Regions from separate parts of the Homo sapiens genome. Here all the other regions are linked to region 1. Evidence: promoter capture Hi-C in 16 types of primary human blood cells and fetal thymus (Javierre and others, 2016). All regions are on one chromosome and are shown on one strand. The core of a region is centred on a gene start or on the middle of the fragment in contact, and the rest is flanking DNA. Distances in the headings are between cores, read along the strand shown. Region 1 holds the start of ACTRT2 (actin related protein T2). Region 2 has its middle 5.0 kb from the start of ARHGEF16. Region 3 overlaps PRDM16 (PR/SET domain 16). Region 4 overlaps PRDM16 (PR/SET domain 16). Region 5 overlaps PRDM16 (PR/SET domain 16). Region 6 overlaps PRDM16 (PR/SET domain 16). Region 7 overlaps PRDM16 (PR/SET domain 16).

Evidence for each region. Contacts are between HindIII fragments. The CHiCAGO score rates a contact against its expected background, and 5 or more counts as called.
Region 2: a contact is called between a fragment that was not itself captured here and the fragment with the promoter of ACTRT2 in region 1, in 3 of 17 cell types (M0 macrophages, M2 macrophages and M1 macrophages). The highest score is 6.4, in M0 macrophages.
Region 3: a contact is called between a fragment that was not itself captured here and the fragment with the promoter of ACTRT2 in region 1, in 14 of 17 cell types (M0 macrophages, megakaryocytes, M1 macrophages and 11 more). The highest score is 33.8, in M0 macrophages.
Region 4: a contact is called between a fragment that was not itself captured here and the fragment with the promoter of ACTRT2 in region 1, in 7 of 17 cell types (megakaryocytes, M0 macrophages, M2 macrophages and 4 more). The highest score is 12.9, in megakaryocytes.
Region 5: a contact is called between a fragment that was not itself captured here and the fragment with the promoter of ACTRT2 in region 1, in 1 of 17 cell types (megakaryocytes). The highest score is 7.1, in megakaryocytes.
Region 6: a fragment that was not itself captured here is called in contact with the fragment with the promoter of ACTRT2 in region 1 in 6 of 17 cell types (megakaryocytes, M1 macrophages, M0 macrophages and 3 more); the score reaches 9.0 in megakaryocytes.
Region 7: a fragment that was not itself captured here is called in contact with the fragment with the promoter of ACTRT2 in region 1 in 1 of 17 cell types (fetal thymus); the score reaches 5.0 in fetal thymus.

The regions. Positions count from the first base shown.
Region 1 is chr1:3,019,303-3,023,073 of GRCh38, reverse strand. It overlaps ACTRT2 (actin related protein T2), which reads right to left and starts at 1,607. Exons shown (of 1, transcript NM_080431.5): 1 at 171-1,607. The coding sequence starts at 1,387. The coding sequence ends at 254. The HindIII fragment of the contact is 17,158 bases long and covers 1-3,771 here.
Region 2 is chr1:3,447,815-3,451,585 of GRCh38, reverse strand. No RefSeq gene overlaps it. Among named protein-coding and RNA genes, the nearest start is that of ARHGEF16, 5.0 kb to the left of the region's middle. The HindIII fragment of the contact is 5,295 bases long and covers 1-3,771 here.
Region 3 is chr1:3,427,029-3,430,799 of GRCh38, reverse strand. The region is part of intron 14 of PRDM16 (PR/SET domain 16); the gene reads right to left. Among named protein-coding and RNA genes, the nearest start is that of ARHGEF16, 26 kb to the left of the region's middle. The HindIII fragment of the contact is 2,939 bases long and covers 456-3,394 here.
Region 4 is chr1:3,403,049-3,406,819 of GRCh38, reverse strand. PRDM16 (PR/SET domain 16) reads right to left here. Exons shown (of 17, transcript NM_022114.4): 7 at 1,934-2,081; 8 at 1,172-1,325. Among named protein-coding and RNA genes, the nearest start is that of ARHGEF16, 50 kb to the left of the region's middle. RefSeq lists an enhancer at 2,757-3,257. The HindIII fragment of the contact is 6,765 bases long and covers 1-3,771 here.
Region 5 is chr1:3,383,225-3,386,995 of GRCh38, reverse strand. It overlaps PRDM16 (PR/SET domain 16), which reads right to left. Exons shown (of 17, transcript NM_022114.4): 4 at 1,710-1,844. Among named protein-coding and RNA genes, the nearest start is that of ARHGEF16, 70 kb to the left of the region's middle. The HindIII fragment of the contact is 1,745 bases long and covers 947-2,691 here.
Region 6 is chr1:3,364,317-3,368,087 of GRCh38, reverse strand. All of the region lies in intron 3 of PRDM16 (PR/SET domain 16), which reads right to left. Among named protein-coding and RNA genes, the nearest start is that of ARHGEF16, 88 kb to the left of the region's middle. The HindIII fragment of the contact is 3,111 bases long and covers 239-3,349 here.
Region 7 is chr1:3,299,766-3,303,536 of GRCh38, reverse strand. All of the region lies in intron 3 of PRDM16 (PR/SET domain 16), which reads right to left. Among named protein-coding and RNA genes, the nearest start is that of ARHGEF16, 150 kb to the left of the region's middle. RefSeq lists a cis regulatory region at 104 and enhancers at 20-189, 3,032-3,771. The HindIII fragment of the contact is 751 bases long and covers 1,405-2,155 here.

The sequences.
Region 1 (3,771 bases), core at 358-2,857:
GCCCTACTTTCATACAAACTGCAGATGGACACAGCCTGGCCTCAGCCCAGGCTTTCTTGGGAGGAAGCGAAGGGGAGCGGGTGTGGACCAAGACACTTCACAGATTCACTGTCAGGGCCAGAAATGACTCTGCCGCCCCCAAGAAGGAACTGAGCCGAGGTGGCCAGGTGTTCCGGCATTGGTCCTTTATTGAACATCCTCCCAAAGCTGGGGCTAGGGTTCACCCCCCACGGTACCCAACGAGAAGCGGCCTTCAGAAGCATCTTCTCTGCACCACGGAGGTCCCAAACTCCTTGAAGTCTGCGGCGGTGACCCACATCTGCTTGAAGCTACTCAGAGAGGTGACGATGGAGGCTCCAATCCAGGTGGAGAACCACCGGTCGGGGGGAGCCGTGATCTTGATGGGGGTGTCCTTGGAGGCCAGCTGCTCCAGCTCCTTGAGAAGCCGGTCATCCAGCCCGTGGAACAGGGTAGTGCCCCCCGACAGCACAATCTCCCCAAAGAGGATCTTCTGGATGTCGGTATCACACTTGGTGATGCTGCTGGAGACCATATTCGAGAGCCCGGGGCTCTGGCTGCCCAGCTGCTGGGGCACGAACAGGGCCTCGGGCGCCTGGTGCAGCGGGTCCCCGAGGCTGATGATGTTCCCGTCGGGCAGCTTGTACTCCCTCAGGACCTCCTCCGGCCTCCGGGAAAGCTCCTTCTCGGGCTCCAAGGCCACGTAGCACAGCTTCTTTTTGATGTCGTCCACGAGACCCTTGTCCAGCTGGCAGGGGAAGGTGTGGCCGCTGGCCAGGAGCAGCTGCATGAGGAGCTCCGTGATGTCCCTGCCCGCCACGTGGAGCTTGGTGACTGCGTGGGGCAGGGAGTAACCCTCAAAGATGGGGACAGTGCAGGTGACCGCATCCCCGCTGTCCACCACCAGGCCCGTGACACAGGCAGAGGCGTAGAGAGCCAGCACCGCCTGGTCCGACAGGTAGAAAGCGGGCACGCCGAAGTTCTCGAACATGACTTCTGCCATCTTCTCACGGTTCTCCCTGGGGTTCAGGGAGGGCTCCGTTGCAAGCAGGGGCTGGTCGCTGGGTTTCACGCCTAGCTCCCACTCAAAGAGGTGCTTCCAGAGTCTCTCCACGTCATCCCACCCTGTGATCAGGCCACGCTCGAAAGGGGAGTGCAGCTGCAGGGCCTCCTGCTTGTACAGGGCCTCCTCCCCCACAAAGTACTTCTTCTGGTTGGCCTCTGCTGAGGGAGCCTGGAATTTCAGGTGCCCCACGATGGAGCTGACCATGTGCCGGGGTCCAAACTCCCCAGACAGGCCCGCTTTGCAGAACCCCGAGCCATTGTCAAAAATCACAGCCGGGGAGTCTAAAGCGTGCGGATTAAACATGCCCGCAGCCTTCCCTTCTCAGCCTCATCAAAATAAAGACCAGCCCTCCAGGGCCGCTTTGTGATGCAATAGGGGATCCCACAGCTCTTCCCACAGCTCTCGGGGTGTCTCAAGGCAGGGCTAGCACCGTGCCCGGGAGCCCTGCATCCTCAGCCGCAGGTCTGCTCTCCCTCCAGGTGGCCTGGGCCTGCTGAGGCCTCTTCCAGGGGGCCAGGGGGTTGTCTCCTAGGTAACAATCTAGCCAAGGCAACGATTGTCCTGAGCCTCAGAGGCCCTGGGGGTGGGGCTCTGAGTCCCCCATCCCCCACAGGGTGAGGTGAGAGAGAGAGAGAGAGACAAGTGCATCCTAGGGCGGTGCTGGACAAGCCTGTGGGCTGAGGCAGAGACTTAGCTTTAGAGTGGAGAGAAGCAGCCCAGCCTGCGTGCACCCTAGAAAACCAGCTTCTCTGGCCCCTGAGCTGCAACTTCTGGGGTGACAACACTTCCCTTTGCTAAGGGGGAAAACCAAGCACCAGGTCGGAGGGGTGTTGTAAGCAGTTCTGTCCCAGCAGGCACTTAGAATGTGCTTTTGAATAGTGATTCCCCCAGGAAGCTCTCAGGGATTTCTCCTCCCTCCATCCCATTAGTCCTGGCTGTCTGTCCCACTGGGTAGACCCTATTCAAAGCCCTCTGGGCTGCTGGCCCTTTGTCCAGGAATACATCTCTGCTCTGGCTTGAGGCCAGCACCCCTCATTCCTCTCTGCAGACTCTGAAGTGCCAGCACACAACAAAGTCCAGCAGCCATAGAGTTGGGAACCCAACAGCCCTGAAGATATGGCCTGCTGGTTTCACATGGGTAGCCTGGATTGCAGCCTGTGACACCTCTCTGTGTCTATGAGCTGCCACACAGTCAGGCCACAACCACAGAGCAATGCTCAGAGGTGACCAGGCCATTAAAGGTCAAGGCCTGAGCATGACCAGGAAGGAGGCACCGGGCCAGGCCAAGGGCACCCACAACAGTGCACGCCCGGCACTCAGACCCCCGCTTTGTCTTCCGCTTGGGGAGAAAGTGGGAGGGGATCCAACCTGGGAACCAGCTTCACTTTTTTCCTAAGGAGGTTGGAGGTGGCCTTGGAGAATGTGAGGTTTATTCTACCTCTCCTGTCATATCCACAATCATGCTCCAGCCCAGCTTGGCCCCCCAGAGTTCTCCCAGAGGACGCCTCCCGGGGTCACTCCCTTCCTGGAGCCCCTCAGCTCCTGCTGGTGGCCCCCTCTGTGTGTCCTGCCTGCCCTGCTGACCCACCAGCAGGCATTAATCCGATGGTGGTGTAGACACATGTTGTAGATGGGCAGTCTAGACACGTGGTACAGACATGTGGTGTAGACACGAGGTACAGACGCATATGGATGTGCCGTGTAGATGCATGGGATAGATGGGTGGTGTAGACACGCGCGGTACACTCGTTGTTGATGTGTGGTGTAGATGTGTCTTGTTGACACGTGGTTTTGTGGGCCCCACTAATCCCTGGGTGGTAGTCAACAAAAACTTGATTATTGAAGGATTTTCCTAGAGGGGACCCCCCCAGAGGGAAACTGAGTCAAAAGCGTGCCAGGGCAGGTGTGGCTCTTAAATCTCCATTTCTCTGGAAACTGTGGCAGCCACCACACAGCTTGCTTGCAGTCGTCTCAGAGACCCCGGGCTCCCTGAGGCAGTAGGTGTGGACGGAGGCACTGACCCATGGGCACGGCCTAGGGCCCTGAGGCCTCCTTCGAAACCTGTTGACCCAGACGCTGGAGCTCCTCCCTGCCCACATCAAGGTCACCCCGCAGGTCCTGCTGAAGGTCACCTGAGGCCTGTGCTGGGGGACACGGAGAGTGTCCCGGGGCAGGGGCAGGCACCATCCCGACCCTGCTCCTGTTCGATAGCAGGCACGGGCAGAGGGTGCCCCCCTTGAACGCCATCTTCCAGGGGCAGGCGCCATCCCAACCCCGCTCCTGTTCGATAGCGTGCACGGGCAAATGGTGCCCCCCTCGAAGGTCATCTTCCAGGCAGGTCCCAGGCTGCGAGGTGACTCATCCTCCAATGCCTTTCTGGCTGTCCCATGCAGCCACATTCACAACAGAAGGACCACCCTGCGCGGGAAGGGTTCCCTCCTCGCTGAACTAGGAGACCACAGGCGCCAGTCCTGGGAAATACAAGTGGGCCCATCCCTGCTGACCTGCACAACCTGGGGTCCTGGCAGAGGTGTGGCTGTCCACAAGGCTGGCCCTTTGAAGCCCTGGGACAGGATCTGGGAGGCTCTCTCCTGGCTCTGCAGAGGGGCAAGGTCCCTCTCAGTCACATGCCCTGCTGAGCACTGGCTCAACATCAGCCGATGCTACCAGAGATGGCCCCAGATGGG
Region 2 (3,771 bases), core at 514-3,013, 430 kb before region 1:
AAAATACGAGAAACAACTCTTTCTAACACTGGACAACAGGTGCAGAGACAGAAATTCCTGGAGAAAGAGGTAAATAAGCCTTTGGCCAAGAGAGGCTGGTGGCCTCACTGGGCTACAGGGGACAGAGTTGGGGAGCCAAGGAGGCCAAGGACTATGGAGAGAGTCCTGGAGAGAAGGCAGCAGTGCAGGGGAGCCCCGAAAGAGTCCTGGAGAGAAGGCAGCGACGTAGTGGAGCCCCCAAAATCCCCACAGGGGTCCACTTGAGCCTTTGGCTGAATACTGAACTGTGCATAAGCAGAGTAAGATCCCATGAAGCCAGGGACCAACAGCGACCAGGGAGCTCTGTGAGCAGAGTGACACCAGAGTTCATACCAGGCCAGGGGACGCTGGAACGTCAGCCACCAGGAAGGAAGCACCGTCGCTGACTATCCCTCGTTGACCTCAGCCGCTTGGGAGTCTGAGGTGGGAGGATCGCTTGAGCCTGGGGAGGACGAGTCTCCAGTGAGCTATGATCGAGCCAGTGTACTCCAGCCACTGTACCAAGACTCTGTCTCAAAAAAAGAATGTCTGAAAAATTTCCAAATGTGATAAAAACTTGTAGATCCACAGATCCAAGAACCTCAAAGCAATGGAGAATAAGTCCAAAGAAGTCAAAGCAGCATACGTACAAAGCAGACCCCACCACAGTACCTCATAATGAAATGGCTGAAAACCAGGGACAGAGGGAAAAAATCCTGACCACCCAGAATATTCAGTAGATACCAAAGAAGGCCATGTCCTAGGTGAAGGGCTGAAGTAATCCTAGGGTGACAGCTCCTCTAGACATGACCTAACAGAAGTTCAAAGCAAGTCCTGAGAGGACCAGGCTGATCCACAAGTACGTTAACTGTGCATCAGCATAACACTCAACATGCTTGAAAAGAAGGCCAGTAAAATCCAGAAACTCAAACAATTTGACATTTACGACCTCCAGCACCCAATGCAAAATTACACATTTACAACCTCCAGCACCCAATGCAAAATTACACATTTACGACCTCCAGCACCCAATGCAAAATTACACATTTACGACCTCCAGCACCCAATGCAAAATTACACATTTACGACCTCCAGCACCCAATGCAAAATTACTAGACATGTGAAGAAGCAGGAACAGGAACCTGTGACAAATAACTAGGAAAAAAATCAGTCAGTAGAAGCAGACCCAGAAATGACACGGATGACAGGATTCGCAGAGAAGGCATTTAAAACAACAATCAAAAATACCCCAAAGGATCAGCTGGGCATGGTGCCGCATGCCTGTAATCCCAGCACTTGGGAAGGCTGAGATGGTGAGTTGCTTGAGTCCAGGAGTTCAAGACCAGCCTGGGCAACGTGGTGAAACCCCATCTCTACAAAAAATACAAAAAATTAGCTAGGTGAGCTACTCAGGAGACTGGGGTGGGAGGATCACTTGAGCCCAGGATTTGGAGGCTGCAGTGAGCTGAGCTCGCACCACTGCCCTCCAGCCTGGGCAACAGAGCCAGACCCTGTCTCTCTCTCTCTATACACACACACACACACACACACACACGCGGACACACACGGACACACATATACACACACACACATATATATAATATATACACACACACCACCCAAGGATTTATAGGAAACGATGATCACAGTCAAAGGAGAGATGGAAAGTATAATAATGAATCAAATGGAAATCCTAAAGATGAAAATATACAGTGTAGGAAACAAAAAATCTATTGGATGAGATTAACAGCAGATGAAACTACAGAGGAAAACAATCAGTAAACTTGAAGCCAGGACAAGTTACTCAGACTGAAGCACGCAGAGGAAAAACCTAGGGAAAAGGCAGAAACCGAGCCTTGCCCACCTTGAGACGGTATCAGGCATCAGGCAGTCTAACAATATGTGTAACTGGAGGACCAGAAAGGAGGGAGTGGGGAGGGAAGAACATATGTTTAAAGCAATGGCTGGGTACAGTGGCTCACGCCTGTAATCCCAGAACTTTGCATGACTGAGGCGGGCGGATCACTTGAGGCCAGAAGTTCGAGACAAGCCTGGGCAACATGGTGAAACCCTGTCTCTACTAAAAGTACAAAAATTAGCCAGGCATGGTGGTGCATGCCTATAGTCCCAGCTACTTGGGAGGCTGAGGTGGGAGGATTGCTTGAGCCCAGGGAGGTCGAGGCTCCAGTGAGCTGTGATTGAACCACTGTACTCCAGCCTGGGTGACAGACCAAGACTCTGTCTTATTAAAAAAAAAAAAAAAGGAAGAATGGCTGAAAATTTTTCAGATGTAATAAAAACTCATAGATCCACAGAATCAAGGACCTTAAAATGAAGTAGAATAAGTACAAAGATGTCAAGGCAGCATACGTACAAAGCAGACCACACCAAGGTACCTCATAATGAAATGGCTGAAAACCAGTGACAGAGGGAAAAATCGTAAGGGAATAAAGACCAAAATAACTGCTGGCTTGTCATCAGAAACACTGAAAGCTGAGAGAACTACAACAACATCTTTAAAGTGCTGAAAGAAAACAAAACTGTCAACCAAGATGTCCATTTCTCTTGAAAATATCCTTCAAAAATGAAAGGAAAATAAAGACATGTTAAGGCAAACGCTGAGAAAATTCATCACCAGTAGACCCACACTATAAGAAATGTCACAGGAATTTTTTCAGGCGAAAGGAAAATGATACCAGATATAAATTCAGGTCTGCACAAGGAGTAGAAACCCACTGGAAATGGCAAATATGTCAATAAATGTGAGAGGCTTTTTTTCTGTGCTTCAAAACATTCCTTTTTTTTTTTTTTTTTTAAATGGAGTCTCACTCTGTCGCCCAGACTGGAGTGTAGTGGCACGATCTCAGCTCACTGCAACCTCCACTTCTTGGGTTCAAGTGATCCTCCTGCCTCAGCCTCCCCAGTAGCTGGGACTACAAGCACACACCACCATGCCTGGCTAATTTTTGTATCTTTTTAGTAGAGATGGGGTTTCACCATTTTGGCCAGGCTGGTCTTGAACTCTTGACCTTGTGATCTGCCCGCCTTGGCCTCCCAAAGGGCTGGGATTACAGGTGTGAGCCACTGCACCCGGCCCAAAACAGTTCTTTAAAAGATCAGAGACTAATGTGAAAATAACGACAGTGTATTATCAAATTTATATGTAAAAGTGAAATATATTACAGTAAAAGTTCAAAATGCAGGAGGAGAGAATAGAAATATACCAGAGTAAAGTTTGTATATTTTACAGTGAGTATAATATCACTTAAAGATAGACAATGATGAAGATAAATACTGAAAACTCTAGATCAGACACTAAAAATTAAGGTGAGGAGCTACAGCTAATAAGTCCAGGGAGAAGAGAGAATTGAATCCTAGAAAATACTCATCCAAAAGAGGGCAGAGGAACAGAAAAAAAGACGAAAACCAGATCTGACAAATAGAAAACAAATATCAAGATGGTAGCCTATATCTAACCATACCAATAATTATATTAAATGTGAATGGATTAAACACCCCAATTAAAAGATAGAGATTGTCAGACTGGATAAAAAGCAAGACCCAGTGACATGATGCTTATTAGATAGGGTGATTCAAATATAAAGACACAGATAGGATGAGAGTAAAAGGAAAGTAAGAGATACGCATGCAACTATTAGTCACAAGAAAGCATGCATGGCAATGCTGATATTAGACAAAAGCGGATTTCAGAATAAGAATATTGCCATGGGGAAAAGGGACAGTTTGTAATAA
Region 3 (3,771 bases), core at 676-3,175, 410 kb before region 1:
GACTCCGCTCTGCCCCCACTGCCTCCCCCGACAACACTCAGCCCCCTTCCTGAGGGAGCTCCCGCGGGTCCCTGGGCCCAGCCACTGACTCTGCAGAGTGAGAGGCACGGAGGCCTGGGGGCGATCCCGGGAGAGGAGGGCAAGCGCTCGGGGCGGTGGGGGCAGGGCAAGGCCCAGCAGCAAGCTGCTATGGCCGGGAGGACACCAGGGCCGGGGCGGTGTTGGGGTGGAAGCAGTGGGCAGTCCTGTGGGGAAGCTGGACCTGCACTGGCACGGGGGTTGGGCAGTGCACGAGGGGCACCCTCAGGGCAGACTTCAGGGGGAAGGAATTCAGGCTGACAACTCGAGGACGTGGGCACTGGCCCGAGAGCCGGGAGCCCTGGAGGGCTCTCTGGGATCTGGAGAGTGAGGGCCCAAAGCCTGCTGTGAGCAGTCTGAATGCACCAGGACAAGCTTGCTTCGGAGCCTGTGGGGGGACTCTTCTGCAGCCCAGGGCTCTCCTGACTTCCCTCAGGGTCACTGCAGCCCGGCAGGACCCCTCCACTCCGGTTCCTCAGTATTAAATAAAAAAGAACAAAGCGTGCATGGGTGTGGCTGGGCATTCTCATTTCTTTCAGGAAGAGCCACTAGAGTTTGGCTCATCTTCATGTTCACGACCAAGAGCTGTGTCTTGGGTGGGCTGGGCCCCAGGGGAGCTGAGGGCCCCCGGGCACATGCTGGACATACTGGTAGAGGGGCCCAAGCAAAGGGCAGGGCACGCAGTTTCTGGACTGCCCATGCCCAGAGCCCCAGGGCCACTCTTCCTTGTCCTCACTCCGCCCGGGGGCACTGCCTCCCGCTGCCCTGGGAGGTATCCACGGTGTGGGTGAGATGCAGGGGTCCTGCTCTTGGCATCCAAGCAAGAAAGTGACAGCGTCTCACGGCGACCGACCTCCGTGTCTCGGACTCGCCTGTGTGCACGGGAACTGGGCTTGGGGAGGCCACAATTTCCTGGCTCTCCACAGATGGGCCACGTGTCTATCTCTTGTCTTTCTGCCTTCCAGGACGGACAGAACCTCACCAGGTTTCAGGGCTTGAGGAGAGTTCCTCGGTCCTGGTCGCCTGTGTTGGGGGCCAAGAGCGTCCTGTACACACACCCATCTCCTCAGCCACGGAGCTGCTGGGATCCGGGTCCTGGTTCTCACCCTGGTTGTTGGTGAGGTGCCCTCGGGTGGGGTTCTGTCTTTGGGGCCTGTGCCCTCTCGATGACACGAGGACATACCCCTCCCTGTCCACTCTGAGGACGGGATGAGATGGCGCAGGGTGAGAGCCCAGGCTCATCACATGGGCATGTGCTGTGAGATCTCATCTGGTGGCCCCACGTGGGTTTGCATGGGCTTCCCACCAGCTGGGGGCAGGGACTTTGCCCTCTTTATGTCTGCTGCACACCCCCCATGCACAGAGTATTTGCTTTTTAGTGTTGGGGAGCGGAGCATCCGGCACGGACACAGAATAGGGCCCAGTGGCTGGTTTGGCTCCAACAGGGAGGACAGTCAGTTTCCCAGAGCTGCCCAAACCAAGCCCCACAGAATGGGGGCCTGAAGCAACAGCCGTGGACGCTTTCACAGCTCTGAGGCCAGAAGTCCAAGATCCAGGCGAGGGCAGGCCGGGTTCCTTCCAAGACTCTGGGGGAGAATCTGTCCCTGGTCTCTCTCCAGCTCCCGCTGCTGCCGGCCCTCTTTGGCCATCCTTGGCAAACCTTGGCACTCTTCGGCCCTCCTATGTGACCCTTGGCCCTCCTTGGCCATCCTTGGTGACCTTTGTCCCTCTTAGGTGACCCTTGGCTGGGAGGCGCATCACCCTGACCTCTGTCTCCATTTTCCCTTGGCCTTCTCCCCTGCGTGATTTTCTCCAAGTGCCCCCTTTTTAAGAGGCCGTCAGTGCCGCTGGATTGGGGCCCACTCTACCCAGTGTGGCCTCTGCTTAATCCCTCCTTAAAGACCTTATCTCCTAAGAGAGTCCCATTCTGAGGTACCGGGGGCTGGGACTTCCACCTGGGAATGCTGAGGGACATGATTCAACTCAGGGGTTCACGGGGCTGCAGGACCAGGACTCCTGACAGAACTGGATCCTTCCTGATGGCGGAGGGCAGGAGCTGGTTCTGCAGGAGGCCCAGGGAACGTTCCCGCCACCCCAGGGACTGGCTGCCTATGTCCACCTTGCCCTGTTCTCATTTTCGTCAGTGACGCAGGGGCTCTCAGGACCAGGCCAGCTGGACCCGGGGACCTTGCCTCAGCAGGACGGGTCTTCCGAGGGCCTGAGTCTGAGTCCGTCTGAGGCCGGCTGTGCCCGTATGTTCTGAGGTGTGGAGAGCCTCCCTCGTCCCCACCCCTAGGGCTGTGAGAAGCAGGGCACTGTGGGCCTTGCCATAGGCGAGGGGGAGGCCCGGCCACATCTCTTTCTCTTAGAGACAGCCTTCTGTCCTGGTGGGTCTCCTGCAGTGCGGCCGGGCTGCACCCTAGCTCGGGGTCCTGGTGGGTCTCCTGCAGCGCGGCCGGGCTGCACCCTAGCTCGGGGTCCTGGTGGGTCTCCTGCAGTGCGGCCGGGCTGCACCCTAGCTCGGGGTCCTGGTGGGTCTCCTGCAGTGCGGCCGGGCTGCACCCTAGCTCGGGGTAGGGGGGCCTTGCTGTCCTCCAGGTGGTTCAGCCTCCGCACACGCTCCTGGTCCTGGGCCCACCCCGGCAAGGATGCCATTGATGAATCCTCACTTGTTCCTCGCCTGGCCTTACTCTGGGAGCTGCAGCTTAGGGGATTGTGCCTGGGGACGGGGCTGTGGGGCGTAGGTAAGGCCTGGCCTGTGGCGCTCATGGGTCTGACACGCAGCTGCAGGGAACACGAACAGCTCCCATGCGGCTGTCTCAGCGTGGCCAGGGCAGAGTTCCTTTCAGGCCATCGTTCCTGGAGCCCACTGGGGAATGCCGGGACAGCCTGGGGGCTGCAGAGTAGGTGGGGTTGCACTGGGGTGGAGGTGAGGCTTTTGGGACCACGGCCCAGAGCCAGCTTCTCCCCCCGCCCCTTCCTCTGAGCCCGCTCTGGGCTCTGATGGATGAAGATGCTGAGGGCCCTACAGGTGAGCTCACCTTCCTAGGAGGGGCACAGATTTGGAACGTGGCTTTGCCAGAGCCAGTGTCCAACTGCCTCCTGTGTTTATTGCTTGGATGCCTCTTTCCCAGGTACCCCCACTCTCCTAGAAGCAATGACAGGAAGACGCAGCCCTGCCCTGGAGGAGGGGATGGGCTCTGAGGGAGCTGGGGTCTCAGGGGGCTTCTTCTTCACCTACTGGAGGTGGTGGGGAGTGAGCTGGGCCCTGTGGGTACAGAGCCTTAGACCGCCCATGGCCAGTGCGGTAAAAGCTTGGGATCTGGCTCTAGGTTCTGGGCCTGAGCAAGACACCCCACTTCTGTGGGCCCCGTTTTCCCTTCTGTAGAATCAGGGGATCACCCCCTCAGGCCTCTTGGAGTTTGGAACACCTTCGGTTCTCTGCCAGCTGGCTGGTGTTAGCTTTCACAAAGGAAGCAGCCCCGCTGGGGTGTCTGAAGGCTCCCCCAGAGTAAGTGAGGCCTACGGAGCCCTGGTATCCCAGGTTGCACAGAGCATGCGCCGACATTCCTGGATCCGAATTCCACCATCGTTCTGCTGCTGTGTGTCTAGACGCACGTGCGCCCATGCGTGTACATGTGTCTCTAGGTGTACGCACACGGCTGTCCGTCACGCATGTGTATGTGCACACAC
Region 4 (3,771 bases), core at 1,042-3,541, 380 kb before region 1:
GTCCCTGCACTGGCCCACAAGGCCCCTTGGACCCGGCCCTGGTGACCTCTTACCTTTCTCTTATTTATTTTTATTTCTTTACAGAGTCTTGCTCTGTTGCCCAGGCTGGAGTGCAGTGGTGTGATCTTGGCTTACTGCAGCCTCGAATTCCTGGGCTCAGGACATCCTCTTGCCCTTAGCCCCCTGAGCAGCTGGGACCACAGGCACACACTACCGTGGTTGGCTAATTAAAAAAAAAATTTTTTTTTTTTTGGTAGAAATGGTGTCTTGCTACATTGCTCAGGCTGGTCTTGAACTCCTGGCCTCAGGTGATCTTCCTGCCTGGGCCGCCCAAAGTGTTGGGATTACAGGTGTGAGCCACCACCTGGCCCTTTCTTCTCACTCCGCTCACTCACTCCTTAAACAAACCCTGGCCTCTGGGCCTCTACGCTCACAGCTCCCTCCTGAGCCTCCTCCACAGGTGCCCAGGGCTCACTCTCCTTGTGTCTTTGCTGGAACGCCTCTCATCGAACAGGCAGTCTCAGCTCCCACACCAGGCTGCCAGCCTGGCCCCCTGTGAGGCTGTAACCCCACACCGCTGCACCCAGAGCTGTGCCTGCCACCTTGCTTGTCTGGCTTGCCTGTCTCCTCCCATTGGTGTGCGAGCCTCCTAAAGACAGCTGGTCTTTTATTCAGGGCTGGCCCCCGCACTGGAACAGCACTGGGCACAGACAGGGCCCCCTAGAGACACCGCCCTGACAATCCCAGTGGGTGTCTGCTGAGACTGTCACGTGCAGGGCAGCACAGAAGCACGCCCTTCTGGAGCTCGGCACAGGTGGGGAGTGAGTTCGGGGGACGGGAGTAGCAACAGGGAGGGAGGGTCCAGCTCCTTCTGCAGGACCCTGGTCCCTCCCATCACCCACTGCCCCCCTCCAGCCCCTGTGAGGTGAAGCAAGGGGAGCCGTGGAGGAGGACGGGATGGGGAAGGGGAGCAGTGAGGGACAAACTCAGAGGGTGCCTGCCGGGGACCAGGCTGCACGCGGCAGAGATGTCAGAACCTGCCATGAGTGCTTTATGAACAAACTGGGGCCCCTCGGATCGGGGGAGACCTTGGGGGATGGCCCACCTCGGCCCGACCGCCACGGCATCCGCGCACCCGGAGGGCAGGCGGCCAGGCTGGGCGACCACTCACATATGAAAGGCTTCACCGTGCTGTGGATATGCTTGTGCTGCTTGAGGCCGGAGGACGTGGCGAAGGTCTTCCCGCAGTCGGGGCAGGCGTGGGCCCGAGCGCCCACGTGCTGCGAGCGGATGTGCCGCTGAAGGTTGCTGGGGTCCGTGAACACCTGGGGAGACGGATGCCGTTGGCGCGTGCCCTGCCTGGACACCCGCCTTGGCCTGGTTCTGGCTGGCGGACCAACCGGCTGTGGGGGGCAGGGCCCTGCCTGTCTCTCTTGCCACGTTGCAGTCTGCACCAAGCAGGCCGGGACAGGTCTCTGTGTAGCAAGGACCCGCTGCAGGGCCTTAAGTGAGCCGCAGAGCCTCCCCGGCTGCTTTCCTCAAGAACAATTCCTGAACTGAGGCTGCGTGAGACAGGGCTGCAGAAAGCGTTTTCAGCTGTGGTGCTGAGACCCTGGCGGGCTCGGGGTGGAGGCTCGGCTCAGCCCCGCCAGCCTCTTCCTTCCACACCGGCGGGAGGACAGGAGCCGCGCTCTGGAGGGGCCTGGGTTCTGGTCTCGGCCCTGATCCTTCTGACCTGGGGGACACGGTCTTCCCTGAGACTTCCTTTCCTTCCTAGTCACACGGAAGGGCCCGAGCCACCGCAGGGGCCTCCTACCCACTCTGCCGCACTCCATCTACATTTGGACCAGGGGGTGTAGGGAGCACGGGGGCGGGCGCCCGTCTGCAGCCTCCTGCTGCCCCGGGGCTGAGACGGGGCCGCCCCGCAGGTTACCTTCACGCAGTTTTCACATTCGAAGCGTTTGCCGCTGTCGTGGGACATCTGGTGGCGGATGAGGTTGGACTTCCAGTTGAAGGCCTTGGGACACTGGTCGCATTTGTACTCGCGCTCCTCCGTGTGGATGACCATGTGCTGCTCCAGGCTGCGCAGAGGACGAGGCTCACTGCGGGGCCCGACTACCTGCCCTCTGCCCGGGAGGGGACCCCAACCATACAGCTTGTTCCCAGTGCCCCTTCGGAGCCCCCACCACGCTGCCGAGGGATCAGAGCACATGCTGGTGTCTCCCTGCCCACCTCCTCTCTGCCGTGGCCGGGCTGTGAGGGGCAGAGGCGGCCTTCCCCTAGCAGATGGGGAAGCCGGCACCTGGATGGTTCCATCCCTCACCCAAGACCACCCCCAGGGCGGCTGGAGGCAGTGCCGGACCCCGGCCCACACTCCCTGGGTGCCTCTCAAGCTGGTCCTGGCCTTGCAGCTAGGCTTGGGCCTAAGAAAAAAGGGGTTCAACACTGGCATGAACCCAGGAGTGGGGCAAGTCCCCCAAACCCAAGGATGCCCCTCTGAGTGCTGGGCACACACCGAGGACGCAGGTCGGGAGTCACTCGGGGGTCTCCAGGTGACACGGAGGGGACCCGAGCACAGCTGCTCGGAGGGGCCGCTGCACTTGGATGAAGGAGTCGCTCTAATTCCCTGCTCTTGGGGGACCCCCGGCTTCCCTTGTCCCAGGGATGACCGTTAATCTTCATGAGCAAAGCAGTGATATATCACGGCTCGTTAATTACGGGGCCCAGCCATCCATTCAGATCAGAAACGCCTGGTTCCCGAGCATCAGGAGACTGTATCTTTTCCCCCGTTGTTAATTGTGATTTATGTGTTTATGTAAAGAAAACACGGACCCTCTTGAGCGGCGTTTACTGGGAAGGGCCGCAGTTGGGATTTGCCCAAACGTTTATTTTCTCAGTCATCTGTTCCGGGTGGAGGGTTTGCCGTCCCCAGGGAGCGGTGCGGGGATGGGCGGTAATCCCCAGCAATCACATAGCCGGTTAGTGGCCTGATGGGCTTTGCTCTGACTTTGCGAGGCTGTCCTGGAGGAAATCCTCAAAGGCAGGAGGAGGGGCCCAGGTTGGAAAAGTCTCCATAGCTCCTTACAGCACTGGACTGAATGTCCTGGTTTCACTCCCCACAGAGACCAGGAATCTTGTCTTTCCCGGGGGCCACAGGTCCCCAAGGCCGCCCAGGCCCCAGATGCTGGCTCCTGCCTGGTCTCAGGGCAGGGGAGGGCCACCGTGGGCCCGCTCATGTCTCTGAAGCCCCTCCTGGGACAGTCCGCTGCCACCTGGTGGGGAGCAGGGCTGGTGCCTTGGGGATAGGGGTGACCCCTTCTGGCTCTTGCCTACCATCTGAGAAGGAGCTGCTCGTGTGTCCGGAGGGTGGGGCCACCATGAATCCCTTGGTGGTGGGTGCTGCCACCCCCATCCCGGTCTGGGACCTTATTACAGAAGTAGCCTTGGGCTTAGCGGCTGCAGGTCTGGGCTCTGGCCTGAGTTTTTCTCCTTTCTAGTTTCTCCCCGCAGCGCAGCCCTGGCAGGCAGGGCCATGAGCCTAGGAGGTGGCTTTCTGGGGCCAGGACATTTGCGGTCGGAGCCAGGGGACACCTGCGGCTCTGGCCACGGGATCCTGCACCTGCTCTGCCCGCAGCGCCAGTGTCCCAGAAGGGGCACATATCCCCAGGGTGTGTCCCACCAGGGGGCCCTTTGTCTACACCTGTTGGGGGGCGAGGCGGGGGAAGGGAGGGGAGGAAGACTCAGAGGAGGGCACGGGAAGGGGAGGAAGAC
Region 5 (3,771 bases), core at 570-3,069, 360 kb before region 1:
GACAGGCTTCTCTTTGAGATTACACGTTTGTTTTTTAAAAAGCTAGACACATAAAGATACCCACTTTACCGCTTAAGTTTAGTTCAAAAGTTCTAATAAACATTTATTTCTTAAATAAAAAAAATCTGGGCCCTTCATTACTATAGTTTGCATCTCACAAAAGCACAGCCCTGGCCCAGCCCCGCGGTGCCCCTGCCCGTCAGCTTCCCAACGGACGACTAAGGACACACTCTGCAAATCTGAGCCCCAGAAGGGGACGGAAAGACCGTCCTTCTATGCGCCTCAAGCCCAATTTTCCTTCACTCCAATTTCACTTTCATCTGGAAGAAAGAAAAAAATTTTTTTAAGTTCTGCTCTTATGTTTATGATTATTCTTTTGCTTCATCTCTGTATTTTTTTTTCAATCAGAAAAAGTTATTTTAAACATTTTTGGCTCTAACTGAAGGCCACGGAAGTCCTGGTAGTAGCGTAGATTCATGTCCCCATCCAGAACGAGCTTGTCCAGCGGAGCAACTGCTCGATGGAGATTCTGCTCCACAGCCAAGGGGACGGCAAATGAGGGAGAGCCCCTGGCAGCCAGCCGGGGCCTGCGGGACCTCCCTGGAGTTTGCTCTGTGCATTTCTTAATGCAAAATTGTTTCTGTAAAGTCGAGAGCCTTGAATCACTTTCAATGGCTTGCACAGGCTACGCGGGAATGTTCCGTGACGTGGTCTTCACACACATTTTTCACAGCCATGGGATCCTTTTCTTTTTTTTCAAATGAAATCTCATGTATGACCCCAAGATATTACAGGAAAAACCAGACTACTGTGATGTAAGGGGCCGGGGACCCCGGGCACCCCGGGCACCCCGAGGAACGCACGGTGTTCAGGATGCAGGCGGAAAGTGCCGCCCGGGAGGCCTGGCTTGAGAGTGAGAAGGGCCTCCAGGGGCCACTCGCAAGCTTGAAATAGAGAAATCCATGAAGCAGCGACCAGCTCTGGGGACACGGTGCCTTCTGGAGTGGAAGGAGACTCCGCGTCTTCTCCCCTGATCAGCCTGTGGGTCTGGATGCCTGTTCTGGTGGTGGTGTGGACCAGCCGTGGAGGTCAAGGATCCAGGGAGCTTAGGGGGCTCCTCAGCCCCGAGGTGGCAGGGACGGAAGTGAAGGTATCTCTTGCCTGGTTCGCTGCCTGCAGGACAGGGACTTTGTGCCAAAAAGGCCAAGGCCTTCAGCAGGCTGGTCAGAGGCCCCGGAGGCTCTAGGAGGCCCCCCGAGTGGCTGCCTCATTGGCCGGTGCGGACTCTTCGGAAAATTTGGTGAAACAGCGCCATTTAGATGGATTCTTTCAGTGACTGTTCCTGCTCTATGCTTCTCCCGTGTCCTTCAGGGAAGCGGCATTTGCAGGAAGTGTGGACCCTGTGATCCGCGGTCCTGCCTGCTTCATTGCTCTTTTCCACCTGAACCACCATCTCGGGGTTCAGGAACTGCCAGCCTCAGGCAGGGTCCCTGAGCAAGGCTCCAATGGAGCCCTCCCGGGGTGAGTCAGCTCCCCGGAAGCCAGTGCTGGCCAAGCACCAAACAGCACCCCCACTGCAGGCCAGGGCTTGGCAGATGTCCCCAAAGAGGCTCAGACAACCCTTGCCTCGGCACCTCCACCAATCTTGGTGCCACATCCTCAGGGACAATTCCAAGAGGCAGAAGCCCCTGTTATGAGCCCGGACCTACCTGCTCACTGATCTGACACATGGTGAGGTTCTGGTCATCGCAGGAGCACGCCACACGGATGTACTTGAGCCAGCTGCCAGCCCCCGCCTGATTTGCATCCACGCAGAACTTCTCACTGCCCAGGTCTTCGGAGATCTGCTGGGAGGAAAGCGAAGCGGGAGTCAGAGGTGCCCTGTGTGCTGGAGTCTGCACACAGCCTCTGCCCACCCAGAAACCTGGCTGTTTGGGCTCAAGTAGGAAGGCAAGTCGGCGTCCAGACCTCAGCCCACCCTCCGGGCATCAGCGGGGCTCCCAGCCCACCCAGCCTGCCCATGCCCGGGAGTCTCCAGGAGTCTCCAGGAGCCCAGCAGAAAGGCAGGGAATGGCCTTTTCTTTTCTCACCGAGCAGATCACTGCCCTGGCCCGGCGATAAAATGAGCCTCCAGAGTTGCAACCCCCACCCCCGCAGCAAAGCTGACCCACGTGTGAGAAGGCAGGGACTGCTGCATCTGGGAGCAGAGCCCTCTGCTAAGGAGCTGGGACGCTGCGCTAGAGAAAAGCGTGTCTGAAGGTGAAGGTGTTGCTGGGTGTGCATGTGTGTGTGCATGCTCAGGGCAGCCTGCACATCACTCTGAGAGCAAGAAAAGCATCTGGTTTCCTTAAAGCTGGAGAGTTTCAGTTTGACACCCAGCAGCATGAAGACGCCTAGCTGTTCTCACCACGCCCGCAAAGTCACACGCGAACCAACTTGGCTTTGCTTTGTTGTCACTGTTGCCTCTGAACGGGCAGAGTGGCAACCCCTAGGACTTTTCTTATTTGCTGTGACCCCCACTCCTCCGAGGACCACCGATGAGGAGACCTGACCTGCTGTCCACTGTGGAGAGACGGTGTCCCCTCAAACAGCCTGACCATGGGTGGCGGCTGCAGGCCCCCCAGCCTCCCCCACTCTGGCCAGTAGCTACTCTGGGTTCTGAATTCAAACCAGCAGCATCTTGGGCAAGCTTCCTGGGCAGCCCAGCCCAGACAGGGCAGGAGGGAGGGCAGGGGGCAGGGGATGGGGCCACGCTACACTCAGGTCCCTAAAGTAGAAAGGCTATGTCTCTGTGGGCAGGAGTGCCCTTGGGCAGGTGTGTCCTGCTGGACAGGTGCATATGGGTGGGCAGGTGTGTCCTGCTGGACAGGTGTATGTGGGTGGGCAGCTGTGTCCTTGGGTGGGTGTGTCCTGGCAGGCAGGTGGGTCACGGTGGGCATATGTGTCCTTGTGGGCAGGCGTGTCCTTGAGCAGGTGTATCTGGGTGGGCAGGTGTGTTCCTGGACAGGTGTGTCCTTGGGCAAGTGTGTCCTTGGGCAGGTGTGTCCTGGTGGGCAAGTGTGTCCTTGGGCAGGTGTGTCCTTCTGCAGGTGTGTCCTGGTGGGCAGGTGTGTCCTTCTGCAGGTGTGTCCTGGTGGGCAGGTGTGTCCTTAGGCAGGTGTGTCTTTGAGCAGGTGTGTCTGGGCGGGCAGGGGTGATGGATAAGGGAGTCACAAGGACCCAGGGGAGTCAGGATGAGACAGTGACCTGTCCAAGTGAAAACAGTGGAGGCTGACTCTGGGCACCTCAGATGCTCGGCATGCACTCTCCCGGGTTCCTAGCCATTTCGGGCCTGGTGCTGGCTGACCCTCAGATGCTGGGCATGCACTCTCCTGGGTTCCTAGCCATCTCGGGCCTGGTGCTGGAATTCTTTTGAAAAGTTAAACGTCGGCACCAATCAATGGGGAAGCATGTGGTCCACGTGCCCCGGTCTCTGTGCATGGTGTTCCCTCTTCCCCTGAGGCTTCCAGGGAAAGTTGGCCCCCAGAGCACAGCAGAGACAGGCAGAGGGCCTCGAGTCTCTTTCCTGTTCCACTTGCTCTCAGTCTCCTTGTTGACATCCACCACCAAGCTGGGGTTCCCGACTAAGGGTTTCCAGAGGTGCTGGGTGAGATAGATTGGGGTGCAGGGCGGGAGGTCAGCCAGGATAGAGGGGCGTGCTCCTGGGGTCCCTGTGCTCCCTATCACACACAGCCGTGCCTGCCCCTGGGCCCCTTCTGGCTCCATCCAGGG
Region 6 (3,771 bases), core at 545-3,044, 340 kb before region 1:
AGAAGGTTCCCTGACTCTTTGAGGGGATTGGGCCCTCTGGCATGTCAGGTACAGAATGTTCCCCAAACCCTTCATCTCTGTCCCCTCCTCCAGCTCTCTGCAGATGATGACTTTACTTTTACGTTAAGTTGCTTTTGTTTAGTCTTCCTCTCTAAACAACAACTACTTTTAAATGATTTTTTAAAGTACAAAGAGTTAGTTTGATTCTTCCTCAAATGCCTTCTTTTGAAGACAAGCTTGCCTTTTCGATTTCATATCCCATTTAATTAAAACAAAATATAACAGAATCATAACACTGAAAATCAGTGTACTCACTACCGGCTCCATTAATTCTTATCAGTATAAAACATACATTCAGAAGTGTAAGTGCTTTAAAATACACTCCTTCCACTCTTGCCAATATGTTCTATTTATACACGTAGTCTACAGCGGGGAAGAAGTTCTCCTTGTGAACCTAGGGAACCACAGGACCGCACGTGTTTTTGGACAATGGACGCTTGAGCCCGGCACTTTTGAGAGCTGTTGGGCCGGCAGCTGTCACATTCCAGCCACTCCCCAAAAGCCATTTGGCTGTGGGTGCGTTAGGCCTGGGATCAGCTGAAAGGTAGCATCTAGGGGTGTCCCCACCTGGCTCAACCACAGCAAAGAGCTTGAATTCAACTTTCCTCTGCCAGACAAGACCCCTCCCAAGTCACGTCTGCCATGAAACCCGCACACGCTTCCTGTCCAAATGGAGCAGAGACCTCCCCATGGCAGTTATGTTCTTGAGCCGCAAACACTAAAGATGCTTGCTCCATCAATTTTTTTTTTTTTGAGACAGAGCTTTGCTCTTGTTGCCCAGGCCAGGCTGGAGTGCAATGGTGCCATCTCGGCTCGCTGCAACCTTTGCTTCCCGGGTTCAAGAGATTCTCCTGCCTCAGCCTCCCCAGGAGCCGAAATTACAGTGGTCCAACACCACGCCCGGGTAATTTTTTGTATTTTTCGTAGAGATGACGTTTCACCATGTTGGCCAGACTGGTCTCGAACTCCTGACCTCAGGTGATCCACCGGCCTCGGCCTCCCAGAGTGATGGGATTACAGGCGTGAGCCACTGTGCCCGGCCCTTGCTCCATCTTTAACCGGTCGTCAGCATCCTGAAAACAAAGCCTAGCAAAACAAAACACGCACGTGCAGCCCCCTCACTCCCCGGGATGCTACAAAGTTCTCTTTGTGCACTACAGACCGGGTAGACTGACGTGGTGTTCACAGACACGGTTACAGCCTGATGTTATGCAATAGCATGTTAACCACACATTCTAGTAAAAAAATAAAATAAATAATAATAAACATTTGACCTAGAGTAGAGATCTTTCACGAGACGCCCTAATCATTTTTCTGCTCCGACCTCAGTTTTTTCTGGAACTGCTCCAGCAAGCCCAGGGTGGTGCGACGGCCTTTTTCTCTCTGGGAACAAAAGGTCTTTTTTAGTCCTCAGGGCTGTCAAGATTATCCAAATATTCTCAGCTTACTACTAGCCCCTTTCTGAATTGATATTTCCAATAAAAGGACACTTTGTATCTTTAAGCCACACTGGCCCCCGGAGCAGGCTACGGAGGCTGGGAGGCCCGCTGCACAGCCCTGGTCGGCACAGCCTGGGAGATGGGTGGGAAGAGAGTGTCCCGGCATACTGAGCGCGAACAGGCATGGAGGGCCCAGGGCAGGGGACACGGCCGTCCACTTGAGGGGAGAAGGCAGAACCCACAGAGAGTGCGTGCCTTCCCGTCAGGACATCAGCGCGTCCCGGAGTCCTGCTGCACTGGGTCTGATTTTGGCCAAGCCTGTCTAGTCTGCGAGCGGCCGCCAAGCGCATTAAGTCATGGTCGTGCTCAGTGGCAGGAAAGAATTCATTCCAGCCGGACCAAGCTGTGCGAAGCCTGTGTTCTCCGGCTGTCGGCACATCGGGGCGCTAGAGCCCCCCTGAGCCACAGGTCAAGGGTTATTTCTTAGCCTCACCTCTTCGCCATCTTCCCAGACCCTCCCTGGCCCCACAGGCCAGTTCTGTGCGTATGTGGCATGAACATGTATGTGTATGTGTGTGTGCGTGCGCGTATGTGTGCATGTTTGTGTGCGTGTGTGCGTGTGTGTGCATGTGTGCATGCGTGTGCGTTTGTGTGCATGTGTGCGTGTGTGTATGTGTGCATGTGTGTGCACGTGCATCCCTGCGCACATAAACACGTGCAGCTGACAGCCTTCAAAGTCGTCCCTGCAGCCCCACAAAGGGCATTTCCTTCCACCCCAACCTCCTCCAAACGGCTCTGATTAGCACAAATGATAATTCTCATTAATCACCTTTGGCTGCTGCAGAATGGAAACGAGGCCGCGGCGAGGTGACGGGAGCCACTTAGGCGGGATTTATGACCTGTGTGTGCAGTGGCAGCTTCAGGGCCTGACACCTCTGCCTGCAGCTAACATTCAGGGCCGCTGGCTGCCTAGCACAGAGCCCCCAGTATTCCCTCTCCTTGTCTGTTGGCTGACTCTGGGGGCACCACCAACCCCATGGATCACCCCATGGTCCAGAGCTCTTTCAGGTCCTGTGGTGGAATACAGTGGGGCTTTGGGGTGTGGGCCTGCCCAATATAAGGAGGAAGAGGCGGGAGGGAGCACTTGTATTGGCCAGGAGGTCCCCTCCTCACTGCCTCTCCTTCCTTCCCAAACCCAGCCACACGCGCCTTTCCTCTTCCTGACCCTCAGGGGCAGGGACAGCCCCCAGCCCAGGGGTGGGGAACCAGATCTGGCACACGTGTGACACACAGTAGGTGCTTGGTAGGGGTTTGTTGGTGCCACAGCAGGCTGAGTGTGTGGCAGAGGAGGACGGCGGCACAGGGCGCCCAGGGTCACTGCGCCCACCCAAGGCCCCCTGGGCACTGCCAAGCTCCAGGCGGGGGGCCATGCGACCCGACTCCCACTTTCCTGAACAGACCCAAAAGGAACCCACAGTGCCAGCTCCAGGTTGCTGCCCTCGCCCACTGGCCGAGTGGGTCCCTGGCTCAGAGAAACCTATTTTCTCCTGGGGACCCTGGTGCCTTCCCTTCCTTTGCATCCCCTGGGAGGAAACTTCAGGGGCCCAGCACTGGGTAAGGCTTTCCCAGGCTGCACGAGGGAATGAGGGACGGCGTACACACACAGCCCTGGCAGCGTGCAGAAGGCAGCGCTCGCCAGGTGGGAACAGCAGCACCCAGAAACCACAGGGTCCCCGAAAACATGCTGCTTCCTTCCGAAGCAACGTGTCCTGCTCGGGGCACCTGGCTGAGGCTGCGCGGGCCCATGTTGGGCCTCTGGGCCTCCTGGCCCGGCCATGAAAATTAAAGCTTTGCTCTGCCTCTGGTTTCCATAAGGCCCGCCTGTCCCCCGCGCAGCTGAGTGGGGGAGGAAGTCACTGCCCGGCAGCAAATAACTATGCTGCTGTCCAGCCTGCTTTAATTTTGCCCTTGCACCAGGGGGCCACGTGCAGGAGCCCAGGGTCATTACTAGGCTGTTGCCGGGGGTGAGGGGCTGAGCGGTGGGAATCCTGGATGTGGACGGCTCAGTGGAGGCCTGGGTTGGAATGGAAGAGGAGCCATCCTCCGGGGGCTTGTCCAGAAAGTGCCCCAGATAGGGTGGGTGTCACCGTGTTAACCTCTGAGCGCTTCAAGAGGCTGTGGCTCCTTGTCGGGCACTTTTGGGTTTGTAAATTACCAGGTCAAGGTGAGGCTGCCAGGCAGGACGACTTGGGGGCCACTTCATGGAAAACCA
Region 7 (3,771 bases), core at 531-3,030, 280 kb before region 1:
CTTGTCTTGGGACGGTCACCACGGCACTCTTCCCAACGGCGAAAGGCAACCAAATGTCCATTAGTGGACATTTGGACGCAGACAGAAAATGTGGGTTTCATGCAATGGAATATTATTGGGCCATAAAAAGGAGTGGGAGACTGACGCGTGTTCACCGTGGCAAAACCTCAGAAACCCTATGCTGAGCAGAGAAGCCAGGTCCTGAGGATGGCACATTGTATAGTCCCACTTACAGGAAATGTCTGGAAGAGGCAAATCCACAGAGACAGAGAGGACATTCATGATTACCAGGGGCTGGGGGGAGAGGAGAAACTGGGAGGGGCTGCTAATGGTCAGAGGTTTCTTTCTGGGGGGATGGAAATGCTCTAAGATTAGACAGTGGTGTGGTGTGCCACTCTGTGACCAAAAACTAACACTTCCAAAGGGAAAATTATATGGTATGTGAATTACGTCTCAGTAAAACTGACATATATGTATTATAAAGCTGATATATATAAGTGTATATATCAATAAAACTGATATATATTATATAGGTTTTTATTTATACAGTTGAGCCTCATTATACCCAGATTTTATATTCCTGAATTTGCCTACTTGCTAAGATGTCTTTGTGACCCCCAAATCAATACATGAAGTGCACCCAAGGCCATTCCTGGACTTGCACCGAGGGGTGAAGGACCCGGGTTGTCTGGCATGTGTGCTCCCAGCTGGGGTCTTCTCCACCCTCTTGTCTCAGCTCTCGCACTGTGACCAGGTGTTCTTTCTAGTCTACTTAGTGCCATGTTTTCCACGTTTGGTTTTTTTGTGGCCGATTTCACTGTTTAAAATGGCCCCACGCACAGTGCTAAAGTGTTGTCTGCAGTTCCCAGGCACAGAGAGGCTGCAAGGTGCCTGATGTAGAATTACATGTCTTAGGGCAGCTTGGTTCAGGCTGAGTTACAGTGAGGATGGCTCGACAATGTATCCAGGCACACCTCATTTCATTGAGCTTCTCTTTACTGTGCTTTGCAATATTGCATTTTTTTTTTAACAAATGGATACTTTGTGGCAACAATGGATACTTTGGGGCAACCCTGAATCCAACAAGTCTACTGGTGCCATTCTTCTAACAGCAGGTGCTTACTGCATGCCACCGTCACCTTTTTTTTGGCAACAAAGTACTTGTAAATTAAAGTATCTACACTGTTTTTAGGCACCATATATTGCACACTGCACATACTACGGTATGGTAGACCAAAACATTTGCGTCACTGGCTTTGTTGCAATATTTACTTCATTGTGATGATCTGGAACCAACCCCGGGAAATCTCGGAGACGCCTGTGTTAGATAAGGGGTTTCTAAGCAGAACCACATGTAGAATAAGGTTGTTTATTGACCAGTAGATGAAAATGTGACCAGAAGCTTGCAGGAACCTAACACAGTATCTCTCCTAGGAGCAACAGTTTAGGACCTGCTAATTCAGCATTCCTGGCAACTGCATAGAAGAGAACTGCAGCTGAGCATAATGAGAATGAACCGTCTACTTATATCAACAGAACAAACTGCACTCTCATGTAGCCAAAAGGCCCTCCAAATTCTGCTGGAGCTAAGTCAGCAGTCCCCCGGTGACCAACACGCGCCAGATGGATTTCCACGGGAAGGGCCTCAAACAGGGGGCGTCAGGAGATACTTCCACAGAATCCAATGGCTGGGAGCTCCTCTGGAGGCCTGGAGCACACAGGAAAACACAGAATGTGGCTCAGGTGTGGTGTGTGCCCCTGTGTGCCTGGGTACACCCTGGATGTCTGGGCCAGCTTGGGACAGTGGCTTTGCTTGGGGTTAGTAACAAGCCAACAGACACAGAGCAAAATCCAGTTTTCTGGCCAGACCTTCTCTATCCCCTGTCCTGCCCACCGGACGTTTTTCGAGCCCTGGACACAGTCTGTAGTTGGGTCTTACAGAGCCCTTGCTAAAGGAAGCTGGGCTCCGCCAGAGGTGTCAGCCTCAGCACTGGGTCACCGAGACGTCTTCTTTTAAAAATACAAAGACAACCAAGGGTTTAATAAAGGAGTCACTTAAAATGACCAAATCTAACATCCCCTTTTCTCTAAAGCACATATCCCCAACTACAAATGCATTTATTGGCTTTTCATTTATTCATTTGTTTGGCAAGCTTTCTTTTCCTCCTTCCTTCCTTTTTTTTTTTCTTTTTTTTTTTTTTTTTGAGATGGGATCTTGCTCTGTTGCCCAGGCTGGAGGGCAGTGGTGCAATATCACAGCTCACTGCAGCCTTGACCTCCAGAACTCAAGCAATCCTCCAACCTCAGCCTCCTGAGTAGCTAGGACTACAGGTACATGCCATCACATCCAGCTAATTTTTAATTTTTTTGTAGAGACAGGGTCTTGCTAGGTTTCCCAGGTGGGTCTCAAACTCCTGGACTCAAGCAATCTGCCCTCTTTATCCTCCCAAAGTGTTGGGATTACAGGTATGAGCCACTGTGCCCGGCCCAAACATTTCTTGAACCTCACTTCATGTCAGGTTTGGTGGGGTCAAGGAGTGCAGCCTTGCACTTGACAAGCTCCCTTGGTGGAGACGAGAAAACGGGGACTGCCTTCCAGGTGATAAGTGCCAAAAGCAAACAGATAACACCACAGCGAGGGTGATAGCAAGTCTTCATTCGTGGTGCTGAAGGACAAAAGTCTGGGTCTGGGATCTAAGCGGTTGAAGGAAGATATTTCCATACACGGTTGCTCAGCTCTTGCTCAATGGGTAGAGTAACTGACTTCACACACATAAATGGGGTTCGGGGGGATGGTACAAGGTGGAAAAGACAAATAATAACAAAGAGAAATGAAAGGAAATGCTAACAATGATGCGTGGATCTTGGTAGAGTCAGACACCGGCAGAATCCATTTTCCCTGGCACAAACGCACCCCAGTTGCACCGCGGTTCCGAGGCTCCAGGGAACGAAGAATTGCTGGAGGAGGAGATGTGCTCCTGAGGCTGGAAAACCATGACTGGGATCGGAAACATCACGGCCACAGCACATCATCTTCAACCAGGGCAGAGCCACCACGACTGGGATTGGAAACATCACGGCCACAGCATAGCATCTTCAACAAGGGCAGAGTCACCACGACTGGGATCTGAAACATCACAGCCACAGCATAGCATCTTCAACCAGGGCAGAGTCACCACGACTGGGATCGGAAACATCATGGCCACAGCATAGCATCTTCAACAAGGGCAGAGTCACCACGACTGGGATCGGAAACATCATGGCCACAGCATAGCATCTTCAACAAGGGCAGAGCCACCACGACTGGGATCGGAAACATCACTGCCACAGCATAGCATCTTCAACAAGGGCAGAGTCACCACGACTGGGATCTGAAACATCACGGCCACAGCATAGCATCTTCAACAAGGGCAGAGTCACCACGACTGGGATCTGAAACATCACAGCCACAGCATAGCATCTTCAACAAGGGCAGAGTCACCATGACTGGGATCGGAAACATCACGGCCACAGCATAGCATCTTCAACAAGGGCAGAGCCACCATGACTGGGATCTGAAACATCACGGCCACAGCATAGCATCTTCAACAAGGGCAGAGTCACCATGACTGGGATCTGAAACATCACAGCCACAGCACGGCATCTTCAACCAGGGCAGAGTCACCACGACTGGGATTGGAAACATCACGGCCACAGCATAGCATCTTCAACAAGGGCAGAGTCACCACGACTGGGATCTGAAACATCACAGCCACAGCATAGCATCTTCAA